Regions from separate parts of the Homo sapiens genome. Here regions 1, 2 and 3 are each linked to region 4. The links are contacts of gene promoters, found by promoter capture Hi-C in human tissues and cell types (Jung and others, 2019). All regions are on one chromosome and are shown on one strand. Each heading gives the region's core, a stretch centred on a gene start or on the middle of the fragment in contact. The rest is flanking DNA. Distances are from core to core; before and after follow the strand shown. Region 1 overlaps ADK (adenosine kinase). Region 2 overlaps ADK (adenosine kinase). Region 3 overlaps ADK (adenosine kinase). Region 4 holds the start of COMTD1 (catechol-O-methyltransferase domain containing 1).

Region 1 (2,826 bases), core at 1-2,500, 1.1 Mb before region 4:
CTCAGGAAGCTGGGGTGGGAGGATTGCTCGAGCCTGGGAGGCGGAAGTTGCAGTGAACCAAGATTGTGCCAGTACACTTCAGCCTGCGTGACAGTGGGACCCTGTCTTAAAAAAAAAGGAAAAAGAAAATATATTTCATAAGGTTAGCAACAAGCTTTTGAGAAGGGCTATTCTTTATTTCTGTGATGTACTTTCTATATTTTTGTATTAAAATCCCTTTTCTGTTGTGAAATGATAGTGATATTCACTTCTATAGTTTAAAAATATGTTCTGTGCAGCATAAATAATTGATAAGCAGTGTTATCTTGTACTTTCAGATTGGAGTTGCCTTTGAGAGTCAAAGATTTGTAGCTCACAGAAAATAAAGAAGTACTGTGTGGGTGTGCCTGGGAGGGAGTTTTGCTAAGAATTCTTACTAAATAAAGTTCAATCAGTCAAATGTTATTGTACTCTTCAAATTCTCCAGGGAAATAAATTGCCAGCTTCCATTTAAAGATTGTATTTTGTTTGAATATGTGATGTTAAAGTGAAATGTGACATATAAGAATCTAAAGATGATTATTAAAAGCAAACAACATAATAGCATTCTTACAATGTCTTTTGCAGGAGAGAATTAATAGATTTAGCAGTGTTTCTTTGAATAAACTTGTCCATAATGAAAGCTAACTAAAATTGCATTAAAATTTATCAACTCCTTTAAAAAAATTCAATATGTTTTGAGATACAAGTATGCACAAGTATTTTCTTTCATTGTCTAATAAGAACTTAAAGGAACCTGAGATGTCACCTATAACAAACTCCTTTGTGTTTCAGAAAAGGAAACTGATGGTCAAAGAGGTAATGATTTGTCAAAAGTAATAAAGTTATTGGTAAGTCCAGGATTCGAATCCCTTCTCATTCCCAGGCCCCTGACCTTTACATGGCTGCACACTATTTTAGGGAGACAAGTTTTAAGAAGTTTCTCTTTTTGGATATGATATAGATTCTTTAAATAATATTATTTTACTGATTTTTGAATTCATATTAAATGAGGGTTTGTATTTTTAAGTAACATGCAGGGAAAACATTCCACATTCATGTTATGACAGCTGGGCTCGTCAAGGCTTTGCAAAGCTCTAAAAGTAGGATACACACTTTTAACTTTTGTCAAGTTGTGATTTAAAATTAATCAAAAAAATCATGAGGACACCTTATTTTTGTTATTCCTGTCTTAAAGAATCTTTATACATGAAAAAATGAAACATTTATAAAATTAGCCCAATTTGTCTAAAAATAAGGGTAGTTTTGACGGTTGTGAATTTCTTTTTTTAAAAAAACTCAGGAACAAGGTTATGATTTTAAAAATGCAAGTTTTCAAAAAGGGCAGGAGTAAGTTTTGTATTTTTAAGCCATTTAAAAAAGATAGTAAGGCCGGGCACGGTGGCTCACGCCTGTAATCCTAGCACTTTGGGAGGCCGAGGCAGGCGGATCACGAGGTCAGGAGATCGAGACCATCCTGGCTAACACGGTGAAACCCTGTCTCTACTAAAAATACAAAAAAAATTTGCCGGGCGTGGTGGCGGGCACCTGTAGTCCCAGCTACTCGGGAGGCTGAGGCAGGAGAATGGCGTGAATCTGGGAGGCTGAGCCTGCAGTGAGCCGAGATCGCGCCACTGCACTCCAGCCTGGGCGACAGAGCAAGACTCCATCTCAAAAAAAAAAAAAAAAGAAAAAAGATAGTTGATATTTAATAATAATTATAAAAATTATAACTATAAAACCAGTATTAGAAAATTAATGATGGATGAATGTAAATAAAGTAAAATTATGCATAATCCTACTTTCCAGAGATAACTAATAACATTTAGGTGTATTTCTTTCCAATCATTTTTTTCTATGCATATATGGTGTGTATTTTTTTAAACACAGTCAAGTTCATACTCTACTTCCTTTTGTTTTGCTTTTTTCATTTAACATTATATCATGAGCATTTTCTTATGTCCCTAAAAAGTCTGTGGAAACATTTTATAATAGTTCCATAACATTCTGTAATTATTTAACTATTACCCTATTTCTGGTTATTTGGGATATAATAAATTTTTGCTATTGTTAATAAGGCTGAAATGAATAACTGGGTATACAAATCTTTATACACATTTGTCTCTCTTTTAATGATAGTTGCCTAAAAGTTGGAATTACTGACACATATTGCCAAAATTCTTTATAGTAGAAATGTACTAATTTATACTCCCATTAATTTTATATGAGAGTGCTTGTTTTATCGCACCCTTAACAAACTGGTTGTGTTTGAAGAGAACTTTGCTATTATTTTGGGGCTTGAAGCATTTGTTGAAGAGATTAGTGGATGGGTCCACATTTTTGGTATGCTATTTGGAGGCACTTAGCTATTTTGGGTTATGTATCTGATTGCTTTTATAGGGCCAGACCACAAGATTAGATAAAGTATATGGAATATTTACATATCAGTCTTACGAAGAGCAAACTATTCAGACCCACTTATCTTGATTCAGCTATTCTAATTGTAAAAAGACTACTGAAGGTTAAAAATTTCAGTTGACTATTTTCTCCTAAAGTAGGATAAGCTAGGCTTTTAGGAAAAAAATAGGGTTGAAATAAATTGTTTAGAAAATTGATCAAAAGTAGTAGTTACTCAGTACTCTCTCTCTCAGCGCTCACTCTCTTTCTGTCTCTCTCTGTCTCTCTGTGTGTGTGTGTGTGTGTGTGTGTGTGTGTGTATTTAGAAAAAGAGTAGAATGGAAAGATTAGAAATAGAGCATGAAAGGCTGGGGAAGGGAAGTTGCTGTGAATAACAGAACTTCTGCCTTT
Region 2 (2,735 bases), core at 204-2,703, 1.0 Mb before region 4:
TTTCTTAACCCTATAAAGGTTACGTTAGGGGAAAACTGGTAGTGTGATGCTTATATGGGTATATAACGTATCAAATTGTATACTTTAAATGTCTACAGTTTATTGTATGTCAGTTATATATCAAAGGCTGTAATAAACAGAAAATAAAATCAGTTGGACATGAATTCATGGGTTTAAAATTAGATCTCTTTTGTTTGTGTAGTGTGAGATATTTTGTTCAGGAAGTCAACTAATTCATGGTCACTATTTTAAAAAAATCATGATGTATAAAAGTAAAGAGCAACTTAAAAATTTGAAATTTTATCGTGTATTTCAAAAGTAAAATAAAGTATAGAGACAAACCCATAAATGTAGAACATTTTATATGGGAAGCAAGAATTGAAATTTGGGATATACACACAGACCAGGTGGTCTTTGCTATGTCTGAAGAAGAAAGATAAGATTGGAAGTTTTATAAAAAGGTGAAATGTTTTGTATTGTTTTGAAAGAAAGCTCATTGGCACTAGTTTTGGGGAGGTGGCAAGCTTTGATTGGTGAGTGACTGCAGTGAGTAGAACTAGTCTTTTAGAGTCACAGCTCATTGTTTCAGTAGCTACTGGATAAAACTGTTTTCAGATGACAACAGGCAGTTTCAGCAGCCAGGCTTGCAGAGAATTACCTTCTTGGAGCAATGTTATGTGTGCTGAGTGCTCTTCCCCCCAGCCTGTCACCTGTTTTAGTCAGATATGACAAGAATGACCCAATTTATATGATTAGCTTTCACACATATATAATCAGTGTTGTTATTTTGGTGAACATGCCTCCAGATGTTTGTTAGGCATATATAACCTGAAGATGAATGTTTATGGGCTAATACTATGTGTAGTCTTTGTTAGTATGCTGTTTTTCACTCAACATTATGTTTTTGGATCACTGTTTTTAAAATTTCAGGCAAATGTGATCAGAGTGATTATGACTTGGCAGCTGTGTGATGATGTCACAGGATCCTTAGGGTGTCGCTTTTCCAGCCAGAAGCCACTGTGGTTGGTGGAGCCTTTGCCTGAGGTTTGCTTGTGCCTGCCAGGCTTGTTCTGCTTGTTTGGCCTGGCAGGCTGCGTTCGGCTCATGCTACCAGCCTGGATCCCACACCTGCCAAGGGCGAGCCAGGTGCAGAGTGGCGTGGCAAAGAGTGTGTGAGCAAGCGAATATGGGATCTGGCCACTGTGTACAGCCACTCATGCTGGCTGCTGTGGTGGGGTGGGCATCTCCAGGCACTGGCACAGGTGCTGGCTTCATGCAAGCTTGCGGCTGGATCTGATGCATCTCAAGTGGCTTCCACTGTAGGAACCCACGTCTGGACGAGGATAATATGGTGGTGCCCAGAAGCTTGGAGACACCAGAAACCACAGAGCCCCAAAGAGAGTGTCACAGCCCTGGATTGGGAACCCCCTAGGTCTGGGCTCTCAGAAGGGCTGCAGCTCTTCTTTCCTTCTTGTTGCCTGCAAGGTGCTGAGTGGGGTGAGGCATATTTTAGCTCTGTTTGTGTTACAGCTGTTTCAGTCCTGCCACTTGGTGGGTCTTCTTATCCTGCATCCATGAACAGTGAGGTATGGGGACAACTGGAGGGTGAGCAAGGTGGAGAGGAGCTTCATTGAGCAACAGAACAGCTCTCAGGAGACCCGAAGTGGGTAGCTCCTTTCTGCAGGCAGGTCGTCCTGACAAGTGTTCACCTCTCAGTGAGATGAGACCCCGAGGGGGTAACTCCTTTCCACAGTTGGTAGTCCCAGGTCTCTTCTGTAAGTCTGGCTGAGTCCAGGGTTTTTAATGGGCTTCACAAGGGAGAAGTGTGTGCTGATTGGTCCATGGGCGGCTATGGGTGGGTCTGGAAAAAGCACCATGAGTCTCACTCCCCTCAGTGGACCCCACCTGGAACTGATAGCCTGGCCCCCATGCTTCAGGCTGTCCCTGGCTTGAAGGCAGGGCTTCACCTGAACCCACCCCTTTTTTCCCAGGAGAGTGTCTGCCTCCTGCTGCCATCAATCATGTTGTCCACAGTGTGCAGGCTGTTGGTGATGAGGGTACTTGCTGGCCCCATTGAGCTGCCCTCAGTCCCACCTTGGCCTCCTTCCCATGCTTCTCTGCACCTAAAGTCCAGAGGGGGCTGAGGGGGCAGGGGGCTGGTATGTCAGTGCTGCCCCGAGCACATGCACACCTGCTGGGTTGTGACAGTGCCTGGGCTTGGCCACGACTTTGCTCCACCCTGGAGCAGGTGCTGGGATCGAGGAGAGGCCAGGCATGGGAACAGGCACTTCTGAGTCTGCAGGGGAAAGGGGGACTTCCCGGGCCCCAGAGAGTGCAGGGATACCTGGGTCCACAGCCATGGCTGGGTGGCTGCAGCTGCACTCAGGAGGGTGGGGCTCCAGCCCTGCCAACTTGGAAGTGGGTGTGGCTCCCACCTGTTCCCAGCTCCCATGGGCTCTGTGGAGCATGCAGCCCTGGCTGCATCTCCCCAATTGTAGCCAGTGTCTTTGCAGCAGCTGCTCTAGACAGCCTGCTGCTGCCATCAATGACGCTGCTGGGAGCTCGAGTAACTTCTTTGTTTTACATGTTTTACTAGCAGCTGGTCCTAAGTGGCTAGCTGAAGTTCTATTTTATATTTGGAAGGTTTTAATCTTTAACTTTGATTTTCAAATAAGTACTTGAAGATAAAAAACAAGTCTTTGGACCCTAACAATAAAAGAGTCTTCTCTATTGTT
Region 3 (2,765 bases), core at 217-2,716, 1.0 Mb before region 4:
CATGCACACGTTTGTTTATTGCGGCGCTATTAACAATAGCAAAGACTTGGAACCAACCCAAATGTCCAACAATGATAGACTGGATTAAGAAAATGTGGCACATATACACTATGGAATACTATGCAGCCATAAAAAATGATGAGTTTATGTCCTTTTTAGGGACATGGATGAAATTGGAAATCATCATTCTCAGTAAACTATCACAAGAACAAAAAACCAAACACCGCATATTCTCACTCATAGGTGGGAATTGAACAATGAGAACACATGGACACAGGAAGGGGAACATCACACTCTGGGGACTGTTGTGGGGTGGGGGGAGGGGGGAGCGATAGCATTGGGAGATATACCTAATGCTAGATGACGAGTTAGTGGGTGCAGCACACCAGCATGTCACATGCATACATATGCAACTAACCTGCACAATGTGCACATGTACCCTAAAACTTAAAGTATAATAATAAAAAAATAAAAATAAATAAAAAGTGAATTTTAGGCCATTTTCTGTTACTTAGAATACCTGAAACTGGGTATTTTATAAGAAAAGGAATTTATTTCTTACAGTTATGGAGGTTGAGAAGTCCAAGGTCAAAGGGCTGCACTTGGTGAGAACCTTCTTGCTGATAGTGACTCTACAGATTCCTGAGGTGGTGCAGGGTATCACATGGCAAGGGGCCTGAACCTGCTAATGGTAGCTCAGGTCTCTTCTCTTCTTTTAAAGCCACCAGCTCCCCTCCCATGATAACCCATTAATCCATGAATGGATTAATCCATTTATGAAGGTGGAGCTCTCATGATCCAATTACTTCTTAAAGGCCCCAGCTCTCAATATTGCCCCGTTGGGGATTAAATTTCAACATGAGATTTGAGGGGGGTCAAATATTCAAACCATAGCAGTGGGTTTAAAGGTACTTGTGAAAGAGGAGACCAGAGAGGAAAATCAACATGACCTTTCAAATGGACCTATGATCCATTTTCAGGCAGATTAATTTTAAATTTTATGAAAGGGTTGAGTATGAATGAGAATTGAAGACCTGGGAATTGTTGTCCATTGTTGTTTATCTATTTCTGTGTACCCTTCAGAAAGTCTGTTTACCTTCAGCAGTACAAATATATGGTACTGTGAAAGATCCCTGATCTAGTATTTATAGCAACCTGTATTTTATGACCAGAGAAACTGAGACTTAAAGATGTAGAGTACTTGCCTATGGTCACTTAGCTAGTAAATGGTCAATCAAAAACTCCAAAACTTGAGGCCGGGTACGGTGACTCATGCCAGTAATCCCAGCAATTTGGGAGGCTGAGGTGGTTGGATCACTTGTGGTCAGGAGTTCCAGAGCAGCCTGGCCAACATGTTAAAACCCCTTCTCTACTAAAAATACAAAAATTAGCCAGGCATGGTGGTGCGTGCCTGTAATCCCAGCTTCTGGGGAGGCTGAGACAGGAGAATCGCTTGAACAGGTTGCACTGAGTCAAGATCGTGCCACTGCACTCCAGCCTTGGTGACAGAGTGAGACTCTATCTCAACAAATAAACAAACAAACAAAAAACACACAAACCCTCCAAAGCTTTTCTTTCCCTCCTGTGTCATGCTACTTAGTACATAGCCTGGTTCACAGTATATGATTACTATATATTTAATGAATGATTTACATATTATTTGTGAAGTCCAAAATACTTAACGTTGTAGTTGTTCCATCAGTTTTGAACTGCTGAATAAGTGTGACATTACAGATGATTCACTACAGAAGAATATTGAAGATCTTCAAAGCATTGTTAAGGTGATCTCCTTTCAGTTCCTGGAGTGGTGTTCCTGGAAATGACTAATAGAACAGCAAAAAACCGTCTACTTGGGCATTCTTGGTGTTTTATCAATTAAGTCAGAGACCTATAACAGTGTTGGAGTGCTTGTTTTGAAGAGGTCAGCTAACTTACGTTGACACTGTGTGTGTATGAAGAGTGTAATTTTCGTTTCTGTTATACAGGTATTCTCTGAAACCAAATGACCAAATCTTGGCTGAAGACAAACACAAGGAACTGTAAGTGCATTAAACCATTGGTTGTAAATAGTTTACTCTGTCTATGAACTTGATATATGTATATGTAAATTATCTGATTTTCAAAATTATATAATGACAAAGTATAATTAACACTATGACCTTAATCCTAACAATTATGATAACCTACACTATATAATTTACACTACATAAAGTTTACACAGGACATAATTTCTCCTGTATTCACATTAAAAGATGTAGTGTTGTATTCCATCATCTAGACTAAAGTCTTACTGGGAAATATGTCATGCTATTTTCTCTTTCCAGATAAAATATTAAATTGTTCCTATTTTCTTTCTGACTGCTCTACCAGAAAAAAGTAAAAAATAAAAATAAATTGTCACTCTTAATTTTTGGGTCTTACTCCGGTGGATCACCCACCTTCATGGTAATGATAGACAAATATAATTTTGTTTCTGTCACTGGTTTATGCAAAAGTAAATGTCAATTGTTTGGTACAAGGTAAAACACTTTATTTTATTTTTATTTTTTTGAAACAGAGTCTTGTTCTGCTGCCCAGGCTGGAGGCGCAATCTCGGCTCATTGCAACCTCTCATTCCTGGGTTCAAGCAATTCCCCTGCCTTAGCCTCCCAGGTAGCTGGGATTACAGGTGCCCGCCACCATGCCTGGCTAAATTTTGTATTTTAAGTAGAGATGGGGTTTTGCCATGTTGGCCAGGCTGGTCTCAGACTCCTGACCTCAGGTGA
Region 4 (2,890 bases), core at 143-2,642:
CGGCCCGACAGGGTGCTTTCTCCTCCCCCGCAGTGGATCCCTTACTCTGAGGACGGCGAGGATGCCTCCGGGTCGCAGCAGCTGCAGGCAGCGCTCGTAGTAGGCGGAGCAGTTCTCCTTGTCCGCATCCACCACGGCCACGTCGAAGGTGCCGGCCTCGCCCGCCGCCAGCAGCTCGTCTTGCGGGGGGAGGGAGGGCAGGTGCGGCTGAGTCCGCGGCCCCGGCGGCCCTGAGGCCCCTCCCAGGCCGGCCCGGGCTCTGTGACAACCGGCCCTGCCCTTAACCTGCCCGGCAGGCCCAGTCACAGCTCGGCCACACAGCAGCCTCGTTTGCAATGAATGGCTTCAAAGCCCTTCCCGCTTCGGTGCTCACCCAGGGTCTCCAAGGCGGGCTTCAGCCGGAGGTCGATCTTGTGCTCCGCCTCGGCCTGCGGAGGGAGCGGGTCAGCCGTTGCGCCCCCGCCTGGGGCTGCAGAGCTAGGCGCGGGCGCTCACCTGCCTCCACAGGGGCCGTCCCAGCTCCGGGGGCTGCGCGTCCACCTCGCAGGTCACCACGCGCCCGTCCGCGGGCAGCGCCAGGGCCAGGGCCAGGGCGGAGTAGCCCGTGAAGGTGCCTGGGACCAGGACACAGACGGGCTCAGCCCAGAGTGGGGGTCGGCCCGGAAACCTCGGCCCTCCGGGATCCCGGCCGCGTGCCCCTACCCAGGTCCAGCGCCTTCTTGGCCTGGATGAGCCGCGCCAGGTTGGCCAAGAGCTGGGCCTGCTCGCAGGTCATCATAGAATCCCCCTGCGGCTGCTCCAGGGTCAGCTGCGTGAAAGGAGAGGGTGGCACCAGCCATGCAGGTCACCCACCTTCGCCCTGGGGGTCCCAAGCCCCAGGGGCGCGGTTCTGGGCGTGGCCTGGGGGACTGGCCCTTCGGAACGCCCACCGCACCCGGCCCAGGGAAGCCGGAAGCCCAGGGAGGGCCAGGGCCCAGCCCAAGGTCACACAGCCACGTGGGACCCGCAGGGGTCGAGAGGGACGCCCGTTTCCGTCCCGCGCCCTGCTGACCAGCCTCAGGCTTCGCAGCGCCGGGTGCTCCCGCATGGAGCGGCTCAGAAGATACTGCCACAGGCGGCTGTCCTCGGGGGGAAGCAGGCACTGCTCTCGCCGGCCTCGCCATGGGGGGCACCGCCTCCCTGACGGGGAGAGGGTGTTGGATTAACCTGAGCCACGCCGCGCCCTACTCTGCGCCCGCCCACCCGCCCGCCGGGACCAGGTCCTGCTCACCCAGGAAGAGGCCAGTGGCGAAGGCGGCGCCCAGTGCGGCTGAGCCCAGGGCCAGCGCGGCGGGCACGGAGAGCCGGGGCACCGGCTGGGTCATGGCGCGGGCAGGAGGCGGCGGGAGGCAGTGACAGGTCACGTGAGCTGGAGCTCCTGGGACAGGTCTCGGACTCGCGGGCCCGCCGGGCTCCACCTTGTCGGGGCACTACCCGCGGAGCCGCGGTCTCGGGCATCATCTGGCGGCCACACAGCCTTACTGCAAGCCCCGCCCGAGAGAGCCGGGCGCGATCTGGTGGCCGCGCCGGGAACTGCGCCCCTGCGGGGAGCAGGCCAAGCGCCTAGATCTGAATTTTCCCGCCTGTGCCCGCAGTCCAGGTGCCTGCCTCCATTCCCCTCCTGCCAATGCTTTTTTCTCCTCGCCACCATTTATTCTGAGGCCCCTTGGGGGCATATGTGAATTGTGTATGGAGGGCGCCAGTGTAAGTTACAAGATAGTCACAAGTACAAGAGATAGAGATTAAAGGGGGAAGGCCTCCTGGACAAGATGCCCCAAAGCATCAGGCTGAAGGAGTGAGGGAACTGGTTTGAGGGCATGCAGCCTCGAATTGGGGTTCAGGAGCCCTGGGGTGGGCCTGTGGAACTGAGACCATATTCTTAGCTGTTAAAATCCTGCTTTTGGGGGCCAGATGGATACGAGTGTCTAATCTTGGTCCTGCCAGTCTCTCTGAGCCTCAGTTTCCTTCCTGTAAAATGAGGCCTACAATCTTACCATAAAAGGCACCAGATCCCACAGCTTCGCACACAGTAGCACAATACATAAGTGGCAGCTGCTGTTATGTTGGTAGGTTGGAATGAAGACATCTTGGGGAGAAAGCCGGTGAAGCTCCCTTGCAAGGTTGTTCTGTTGAAACACTGTCCAGAGAACACTGATTGAACCCCTACCATGCGCCAAACTCCGGAGGAGGTGAAAGACGCTGACGCTGTCCTTTTTTTTTTTTTTTTTGAGACTGAGTCTCGCTCTGTCACCCAGGCTGGAGTGCAGTGGCACAATCTGGTCTCACTGCAACCTCCACCTCCTGATTCAAGCGATTCTCCTGCCTCAGACTCTGGAGTAGCTGGGACTACAGGCACGCACCCCTACACCCAACTAATTTTTGTATTTTTTGTAGAGACGGGTTTTGCTATTTTGGCCAGGCTGGTGTCAGACTCCTGGCCTCAAGTGATCTGTTTGCCTCGTCCTTCCAAAGTGCTGGGATTACAGGCCTGAGCCATTGTGCCTGGCGTTGGTGTTCTTTTTTTTTTTTTTGGCAAGGTCTCTGGCAAGGCTGAAGTGCAGTGGCAAGATTACTGCTTATTGCAGCATCGAGCTCCCAGGCTCAGCAATCCTCTTGCCTCAGCCTCCCAAGTAGCTGGGACCACAGGCGGTCACCACTGTGCCCAGCTAATTTAAAAAAAAAAATTTTTTTTTTAAAGAGAAGGGGTCTTACTATGTTGTCCAGGCTGGTCTCGAACTCCTGGCTTTAAGTGATCCTCCTGCCTCAGCCTCCCAAAGTGCTGGGATTACAGGTGTGAGCCCCCGTGCCTGGCCTCTGGTTGGTATTCTTAGTGAAGCTGGTTTCAGAGATG

What was found. The method cuts DNA at HindIII sites, captures the fragments that hold promoters and counts their contacts. A contact is called where the count stands out against the background at its distance.
Region 1: a contact is called between a fragment that was not itself captured here and the fragment with the promoter of COMTD1 in region 4, in 1 of the 25 tissues and cell types used here (dorsolateral prefrontal cortex).
Region 2: a contact is called between a fragment that was not itself captured here and the fragment with the promoter of COMTD1 in region 4, in 1 of the 25 tissues and cell types used here (dorsolateral prefrontal cortex).
Region 3: a contact is called between a fragment that was not itself captured here and the fragment with the promoter of COMTD1 in region 4, in 2 of the 25 tissues and cell types used here (adrenal gland and spleen).

Annotation. Positions count from the first base shown.
Region 1 is chr10:74,169,109-74,171,934 of GRCh38, forward strand. All of the region lies in intron 1 of ADK (adenosine kinase), which reads left to right. Among named protein-coding and RNA genes, the nearest start is that of ADK, 19 kb to the left of the region's middle. The HindIII fragment of the contact is 7,141 bases long and covers 1-2,826 here.
Region 2 is chr10:74,205,862-74,208,596 of GRCh38, forward strand. All of the region lies in intron 2 of ADK (adenosine kinase), which reads left to right. Among named protein-coding and RNA genes, the nearest start is that of ADK, 56 kb to the left of the region's middle. RefSeq lists enhancers at 617-1,149, 1,150-1,680. The HindIII fragment of the contact is 5,622 bases long and covers 1-2,735 here.
Region 3 is chr10:74,222,553-74,225,317 of GRCh38, forward strand. ADK (adenosine kinase) reads left to right here. Exons shown (of 11, transcript NM_006721.4): 3 at 1,986-2,039. Among named protein-coding and RNA genes, the nearest start is that of ADK, 73 kb to the left of the region's middle. The HindIII fragment of the contact is 3,256 bases long and covers 1-2,765 here.
Region 4 is chr10:75,234,565-75,237,454 of GRCh38, forward strand. It overlaps COMTD1 (catechol-O-methyltransferase domain containing 1), which reads right to left and starts at 1,393. Exons shown (of 7, transcript NM_144589.4): 1 at 1,271-1,393; 2 at 1,052-1,179; 3 at 703-808; 4 at 496-614; 5 at 374-428; 6 at 46-179. The coding sequence starts at 1,364. RefSeq lists silencers at 122-351, 512-801, 932-1,011, 1,172-1,311, 1,347-1,641. The HindIII fragment of the contact is 14,083 bases long and covers 1-2,890 here.